3 separate regions of the Homo sapiens genome follow, and all the other regions are linked to region 3. The links are contacts of gene promoters, found by promoter capture Hi-C in blood cells and fetal thymus (Javierre and others, 2016). All regions are on one chromosome and are shown on one strand. Each heading gives the region's core, a stretch centred on a gene start or on the middle of the fragment in contact. The rest is flanking DNA. Distances are from core to core; before and after follow the strand shown. Region 1 holds the start of TGFBRAP1 (transforming growth factor beta receptor associated protein 1). Region 2 holds the start of MRPS9 (mitochondrial ribosomal protein S9). Region 3 holds the start of GCC2 (GRIP and coiled-coil domain containing 2).

Region 1 (2,700 bases), core at 142-2,641, 3.1 Mb after region 3:
AAAAGCACAAGGGTGAATTCTAGGACCACCTGAGCCAGTGATTAGTTGATGACAAGTCACATAGTCTCTGTGAGCCTGGGTAAAATGAAGAGACTGGATTTGCTCTTGTACCTTCCCAATCCCTGGCTCCACTAGCTGTTGGCCACCTTAGACTTGAAGGTCCATTCACTGCTGCTTGCCCTTGAAGCTCAATTGCTGGTCAGAGCTTTACACTCCTGGGAAGCCAGTCCCCTACCTGGAGGCTGAGCCGGTGACACTGGTTCCACTGGGTCACAGCTGAAGCACCACTGGGGATGGGGCATTTATGTGGCCATGAGTCACACTAGGGTAGGGGTAGAGGGCAAGTCACAGGAAGATTGTTGGGTTTTTTTTTTTTTTTTTTTTTTTTGGCCAGTTTCTTTTCTTTCTTTTTTTATCCCTTTGAAACAGAAGACCATGGCGTACAATCTGGTATCTGCCTTCAGGGTTGGGATAATATCTTTGTTTTACAATACTCAGAGTGGCTGGAAGAAAGCTGAGGCCACAGGTCACTAGCAGGTTCTAAAGTCTGAAAATCCCTGGGAAAATTTGACTTTTTATATGCTAATAATTGAGTACTGACAACTCTGGAGGGAGCTTTCCAATTCTTCCGTCATGAAAGTGGACTTTGTATACTAAAGAGGGGTTCATGGATTCATGGTAACCTACAATTCTTCCTTGCGGCCTGAACCAAAGGAATAGCAGCTACAGTTGGGTTTTCCTAAAAGGAGTAAGATAGTCCCAGGCCTCCCTTCTCAAATAAGTGTATCAAGCAGGTGGACTCTGCCAGTCGGGGGTCCCGGTCAATCCCTAGGGCCCTGGGGCGCCATGGGCCTCGTGGGAGGGCTGCGCATCCCAACCATGCCTTCGTCTCCTGGTGGGGCACCGGCGGTACGTCCGATCCTCCAGCCCGCGTGGTCAGGCGGCCGCGGGCCCAAGCATTTCCCAGGGCCCAAGCATTTCATTCATTTATTCATTCACGCAGCAGGTATTTCCCGGGCGCCCTCCTCCTGTGTAGGTGACAGAAACTGGGTGGCGAGCGAGCCAGGCAAAGCCCGGCTTCCCTGAAGCTCCCCGCAGCGGCGGGGGCGGAGAAGAGACCTCAGCCCCGCGGGCTCGCACAGCTGGCGCGGACCACGCTCTCGCCCGGGGCCGGCGGCCTCAGCGCCCCCCGAATGAACACCTTCCGCCCGCTGGCCGCCCCGCGAGGCGGGCCGTGTCGTGGCCCCGGTGCACGGAGGGGGACGCCGAGGCCCGGAGCAGGGCCCGTCTCGGCCTGTGCTCGGAGCCAGGCGGCAGGGCCCGCGGGCCGGCGGGCGGCGCGGAGACGGCTGCGCTCCCGCCCTCCGCCAGCGCCTGGCGGCCGCCCCACGTGACGGGAAGCGGCGGCTGCGGGGTCGGGCCAGCCCAGGAGCCGCGGGCCGGAGCGGGGCGGCGGGGCCCCAGGCCGCGGGGCGGCGCGGGACGGCGGGCGCCGGCGCCGGTGAGTGAGGAGGGCGGCGGGGCGCGGGGTGCGGGGCTCAGGGCGCGGGGCGCGTGGGGCAGGAGGGCGGGGAGCAGGAGTGGGGGGTAGGCGGCGGGGCGGGGTGGAGGGCGAGCCCGTGCGTGTGCGCTGGGGCAGGTGTAGTGGGGGCTGGAACGCGGGGTGGGGGGAGCAAGTGGCTATACACTTGGGGGCAGGTGTGCGGGTGTGCGACTTGGTAGCTGTCCCTTGTGGGGGCCGGCTAGCCTGCTGGGGTGAGCAAATAAGTGTTCACGTGTGTGTGGGATGAAGTGTGCACGGGTGTGGGGTCAAGTGTGTATGTTGTGTGTGAGGAGTGCGTGTGTGTTTAGGGCAAGGGAAGACCTGAGAGACCTCGTCCTTGATTTGGGTTTTCCGGGGAGAAGGGCCAGGAAGGACTTGCACCTCCATCCCTGGTATGGAATGGTTTTGGCGCTGTGATTGAGGTTTCTGGGAGCTCTTTGGATTTGAGAGCTCAAATTCGGGTCACACTCAGGCCTGAATTGTCCTGATCTGGAGAGTAGGCAGGGGTGTGTTGGGGAGTAGGGAAAAGTGCTGTGCTGGGCTTCCTGGCCCCTGTTTTTAGCACCAGGTCAAGGGCTGGAAGCTGTCATCCCTGTGGAATTGTTTTCTTTCCATTGCCTTCTGGAGGTGCAGGTGCAAGTTAGTCCGCCTGCCTCCCTGTGTTAAGTGTTGATATCCTTAAACACGGAAGCTGTCCGGTTGTCTGCACCTGCCGTGGCTTCTACCCAAGGACTGTTGAGTGACCCTCAGGAAGCCTCCTACCTGGCTGCTAAAAATGGGGGCTCACAGATCACACAGCAGGCCTTACTGCACGTGGACTGCACGCGCAGCTGTGGTCAAAACATGTCTGAGCAGAGTTTAATCACTGATGAAGTGCTCATGGGCAAGCACCTTGTCTATCAGGAAGGAAGGCAGCTGCGGGTGTGATTGTGGTGGCAAGTTAAGGCACTGAGAAGGTGTGCAGGGAAGATCCTACTGCGTTGTGTGTGTTGGCTTGGTTGGAGTCAGGATGAACGAATGTAGAGGGACTGTGTGGTGGCTGCTACTCTCTCATGGTGGACATGCTTCTCTCTGTTGGTCAGCCGGAAGCTGGCAGACAACTGAGAGCTCGCAGTTCCATGGTCAGTCAGAAGGAACATTTGGTCAGCTGCTTCCTT
Region 2 (2,700 bases), core at 125-2,624, 3.4 Mb after region 3:
ATAAAAATACTCTGTATGATATAGTCCCTCTCATAATCATGCGTATGTAGCAAAGATATACTCAAAGAGATGCATGAAAAAATAAAAATTTCTAGCACATTTTCCAGTAAGAAAAAAAAAAAAAACAAATGTCCACATGAATAGATAGAATGGACTGGTTGATCTAGATTAAAATATAAAGGAAAGAACATACAAAAAGATGTTTTTTTTTTTAAATATAGTTTTTAAAGTATGGTATTTGACTTTCCTGCAATAATTGGTACTTGTTATCACTCTCCCTCCTTGAAACATTCACCTGTTTTCCATGACACCACACTGGCTGGTTTCTCTCCTGCTTCTTTGGTCCCTCATTCTCAATCTCTTGAGGCCTCTTATTTCTTATTTGTCCTTCAGGGCCCTGTCCCTCTGCCTACTCCTCAGTACACTCTCCCTAGGTAATTTAATTTGTTTACAAGGCCTCAGTTACCATTTACAAGGTAACAGGGCATTTCGAAATCAGTTCTCCTCCTGAGCTATACACTTGACTATCCGTAGACCTACTGGAAATCCCAGATGCCTAAAAACATAATCCCATACTAAACTCGTTTCTTCCCTCTCAAATCTTTTTCCTGCTCTGAGATCGCATGTCAGTAAACTGGCATCATCAGCCATCCAGCTGTTGACTCCCCACTTCTCCCTGGATTAAACGAAACGTACAAGTTCTGGCCTGCATCTTTCCATAGAGGGGGATTCGGGAAAATTAAGAAGCCAGAAATTGCGCATATTGAAGGCACTTTCAAAAAGTCACTGTCCTCTACACAACGTGACTTTCTCCATTGTCTTCCAGGCACCTGCAGGAATCCAATTCCCATCATTCTTCTCTGGCGCGGCCCTCCTCCTCCCTAGACAGCAGGGCAGGGTAGGACTGGACCCAACACAGACCTAGGCACCGACCCTTACTTAGCTCAGCAGCCAAATGAAGGAGGAGGTCGCTCCACTTCTACCTTCAGGTAAGTTCCCCTCGCTGCACCCCGCAAAAAAACAAGTAACAACCTCTAGAGCGGCTACTGCACGCCAATACCCACCTCCTCCCCCCCAACCTCAGACCTCCACTAAATACCTAAGATCCTAGAGTCCCTGCCTGAAGGCACGCGAGACGCTGGGGGAAGGTGTCCGCGCTGGCTCCACATCCTCGCGCGGCAGAGGTAAGCCGCTTCCAGTCTTCCCAGGCCTTACCTGGGATCTGACATTTGTTTGCAACTCAGGGGCCGCGGTTTTCCAGAGGCCTTGCTTCCGGGCGAGGCTACCCCTACCCCAGAGAAGAAGCCGGTACGAAACTGCTCCGCCGTAGGACACACAGGGCGCCGCCATGTTAGCTGTGGGAGCTCCAGGACCGGAGGGGTGAGGGGGCGGGGCCTAGAGACGGCGCAGGCGCTAATGGCGCGGGGTTCCAGAGGCTGTCCTGTGCAAGAGCTTCTCGGGCCTTTGGATCAGGGGGCGTGTCCCGCGATCCGCGACAGCTCGTCGCTGATTGGGTGCATGGTGTCCGCGGGGCGTATCCGACTCCACCCCTGCTCGGTGTCGACCTCAAGAAGGATCGCTGGTGGGTCGTTTTTCTCGGCCTCTTTCTCTTCACGTCCTGAACTCAGTCTCTTCGGGACTCACTTCCACGCTCTCCTAGTCTCTTTGGCACTCACATCCACGTGGCGCTTTAGCCAGCCCTTCCTTCCCAGCCCCCTTGCTGCACCTCGAGCCGGCTCTTCCTCCACCTGGGCAGGGCGGCCGGGGCCCCAGATGCGCTCCAAGCCTTGATTCCTGTCTGCCTTATCCTAGTAGGGGTTTTCCCCTCCTCTAACTTTCCACGTTCGTCTGGTTCCAAGTCAAGACTCTCCTGCAGCAACTGTCAAGCCCCTCTCGGTTCCCTGGCACTCTCCTGCGTTGTTTCTTAACTGTATAATGCACAGGATAAACCTTAAACCGGTAAGGTCAAACACTACCTTTCTCGTTTTTGCACGCCCCTCCCTAAGCGTTGGTACTAAGCCTTACTTGAAACCCAATCAGAACTGATTAATTGTTGAATAGAGATGAGTATGTCTTGCTTTCTGAAACTTGCGTGCTCCTGGCAGTTAACTCCCAGGTTGCTTTCTACGAAACACATACTAAATGATGTAGTAACGCACTTTAAAAGGGTTTACACACACTTAGATTTGAAGGGTCAGTAAAAGTAAAACACACAGAAAATCTGAGATCATACAAAGTTGTCAAGCAAATAAATGCCGTCTACTATCACCATCATTTCACGAAACAGAACTTTTTAGCATTAAAAAGGTAGAATGGCAGAATTTCACAATAAAGAAAAATCTTTTAAATGGAATACATTTACTTGTATAAAATGCTCATCCTGTTGTTCTTTTTGTTATTAGCTTTTAGACTAGCAAAAGATATCTTGAGAAATTGGCAGAGGTCGGAGGACTAAACTCTGATTTTTTTATCTTGCCCAAGATTCCTATCTACAGGATTTGGGGAGTCATGCCCTACAAATCATAAATTCTTATTAGATGGGTTTTACTTAACCCTATATATGGTGACTTACTTTCCAACCTGACTCTGGCATAACATTACAAGACAAGGAAGAAAATCAAAATATTTTACCCCAAAACATGTTTCTTTGCCATATCTTGAAATGGCCCTGCAAAGCTGTCCTTGGAGGGGTGGGATATG
Region 3 (2,700 bases), core at 44-2,543:
ATCCTCTTATAGCTAATGTTACAGGTTGACATTGCTAGCTTTTGATTTAATTGTAAAATCAGTAGGTTGGAGCTAATGCTACTTAAAATTCCTTGGAGCTGTAAAATTATTTCATTCTATTCAAGGCTGCAAGTCTTTGGTCACAAGAAAATTTACGCATAATTACAGCAGCAAGATGAACCGGGTAACATTCAGGCTTTAATTAAAAAATTGAGCTTTACCACTTGAGAAAATTGCTTAAGCCTGTGGTCTCAGGTTTCTCATCTGTAAAAGGAGGGTAACAACAGTACCTATCTCATGGTTATCATGAAGCTTAAACGAAGGAACTGAGTGGTTAGGCAAGCGCCAGAAATTTAGCATGCACACAATAAACCTTAGCAATAAACCACTATCATTTAGAATGATTGAATGTTAAACATTGTACAGGGCCATAAAACTGGACTAATTAAACTCTTTGGCAATGTAGAAACTGGAGCCCACAGATCAGAATCCCTTGATTCCTACCCTATGTCACTGCTCCTTCCACTACACCACTATATAAACCTTCTTAGACTGCTTTATGTTCGAAAAATAGCAGGATCTCCCAGCAGTGCTAACCAGGAGCAGGAAGCAAACAAAAAGTCTTTCTATATCGGGGTGGGCGGGGGAGAAACAGGAAATGGGCGATTGCGCACACTAAAATTGAGATCCCTTGGAGCAAGGCTATTAAAAAAAAAAAAATCAGCGCCCCCCCCTTCCCCATGCCAAAGTTTTCCAATTCATCACCCTTCCACTCTTCAGGAAGCCCGCTATTCAAGTATTCTCTTCACCTTAGATTTCCCGGTCCCAGGGGTAGCTGGTGAAGCCACCCCATCTTGAACAAGATCCTGCAAAACAAAATCAAACCCAGGTGTCAGAAGAACTCTTTTCCTAATTCCACACGGAACGCGTAGAACCCTTACAGGGAAAAACCTTCTATGGAATCAAGTGGTGGAAAGCCTCGTGAGACAGAGAATGAGGGCGGACGGAGGCGGTCGCTGTGGCAATTCGTACACAAACGGGCTCTACGGGGCAGGTAACCCCCAGGGATAGAGTTTACGAAAGATGGGGAGGCGACAGCAGCGCGGGCTTCGGGACACCAAGAGGGAGACTACCGCGCCCTCCCATCGGGCCCACTCCCACATCCCAAATCGCGGCGCGGAAGGCTTGATGGGAGGCAGTGGGCCCGACCTGAGTTACCTCCATCTCCGCCAGCCCGCCGCCGGCCCGCAACCAGCCGCCGCCACCGCTGCACTTCTGTTTGCGCCAGCCTCTGACGTAGGCTCTACTGCAGGTCAAAGGTCGCGCTCTCCGGGCGGCCCGCCCCCCACGTCTCCATAGCTACAGCTCGGCAGCACTTCCGCTTCCGTGTCTGCGTCCGGGAGAAGGTTCCCCGTACGGCGCTAAGGGCGGAGTCCGTCTAGACGTTCTACCTGGGGCTCGACCCCTGGGCCTGCAGGTCACGGAGTAGGTGTGGGTCCCGCCACTGCCGGTTATTGGCATGGGAAGGCGGGCCGATTACCCCTTGGGGCCTCGGGCCTCGGTTTCCACGTCTGTAAAATCTTGTGAGAGTGAGGAACATTGGATTGCAGGACAGGTCTCTCAGTCCTCCAAAGGTGTCCGCTAGCCTGCGAGTGCCTGCGGGACCCACAGCTGGTTCCGGGGGGCTCCTTAGGCATTTGTGGCCAGCATGGTGCCCGGGAGCTCCGTGACTCACAGGTCAGGGATGCGGTAGAGGGCTTCCCTGAGGAGGCATTTCTTGACTCTGGAGGCTGTGAGGAGGTCCCTGGACAGCTCTGCCCTGCAGCCGCCCGGTACTGATGGTGATGTGGTGGAGGCAAGATAGTCGGCCAGGGAACTGGGCAGCCGTGGGAGGAGACTCTGTAGAGTAGGGGGCCCGAGGCCACCCTTTCCCGAAGGGCACGCCAGAGAATCTGTGGTCGAATCCCAGAGCTGCTGCTGTGTCCTGATTGGCGGTCCAGTGCTCTGAGAGCCTTTCTGTTAACTGCTGAAGTGGTTTGCTGCGCTTTCACCTTCCCATTAATGTTTTCCATACACTCCCATAACTAAGGTAACCTGAAGATAACCTAGTTTCCTGTAGTTTAAATGGTCAAAAGGTTGAAGAGGCAGCACACAGTATGTATCGAGTAAATGGTAGCTGATTATTACTAGGTAAAAGAAGTGTTATAAACGAGAAAGAACAGCTATTGTGGACATCTACTCTTTGTCTTTGACAGTGTGTATCACCTATGGTGTTTGTAGGATTGGTTCAGGGGTGGTGTGTGACCTAAGATGTACAGTCTCCACGTACAGTAACACACGTGTGTGTGTACACGTGTGTGTGTACACGTGTGTGTGTGCACGTGTGTGTGTGCACGTGTGCGCGCACGTGTGTGTGCACGTGTGTGTACACACATATATGCACACACATGTATACACACACACACACACAATCCCCAAGTATACATTGTTATTAATGGTCCAGATTAATGCCATTCAAAGTAGTTCCCCAAGTTAAGAGCAACTTACGGTAGACTCCTATTTCAATTAATAACTTGAAAAAATCACTTGCAATAAAATAGCAGGTTAACTAGATACTACACACATTCCAATCCTGTAAAAGTTTCTCAGAGAAACACTGTTAGATATAGTTACATTCCAGGAGTTTGGCTACATCAATAG

Evidence for each region. Contacts are between HindIII fragments. The CHiCAGO score rates a contact against its expected background, and 5 or more counts as called.
Region 1: the fragment with the promoter of TGFBRAP1 here is called in contact with the fragment with the promoter of GCC2 in region 3 in 1 of 17 cell types (naive CD8 T cells); the score reaches 6.8 in naive CD8 T cells.
Region 2: the fragment with the promoter of MRPS9 here is called in contact with the fragment with the promoter of GCC2 in region 3 in 2 of 17 cell types (non-activated CD4 T cells and fetal thymus); the score reaches 6.8 in non-activated CD4 T cells.

The regions. Positions count from the first base shown.
Region 1 is chr2:105,328,426-105,331,125 of GRCh38, reverse strand. TGFBRAP1 (transforming growth factor beta receptor associated protein 1) reads left to right here and starts at 1,391. Exons shown (of 12, transcript NM_004257.6): 1 at 1,391-1,501. RefSeq lists a silencer at 1,077-1,506. The HindIII fragment of the contact is 18,854 bases long and covers 1-2,700 here.
Region 2 is chr2:105,036,743-105,039,442 of GRCh38, reverse strand. MRPS9 (mitochondrial ribosomal protein S9) reads right to left here and starts at 1,374. Exons shown (of 11, transcript NM_182640.3): 1 at 1,216-1,374. The coding sequence starts at 1,350. It overlaps MRPS9-AS2 (MRPS9 antisense RNA 2), which reads left to right and starts at 947. Exons shown (of 3, transcript NR_110603.1): 1 at 947-989. RefSeq lists enhancers at 392-1,334, 1,088-1,417, 1,588-1,637, 1,688-1,737, 1,758-1,967. The HindIII fragment of the contact is 6,591 bases long and covers 1-2,700 here.
Region 3 is chr2:108,447,799-108,450,498 of GRCh38, reverse strand. GCC2 (GRIP and coiled-coil domain containing 2) reads right to left here and starts at 1,293. Exons shown (of 23, transcript NM_181453.4): 1 at 1,219-1,293; 2 at 810-866. The coding sequence starts at 1,224. RefSeq lists enhancers at 1-303, 389-1,370, 1,207-1,466, 1,371-2,353. The HindIII fragment of the contact is 5,578 bases long and covers 315-2,700 here.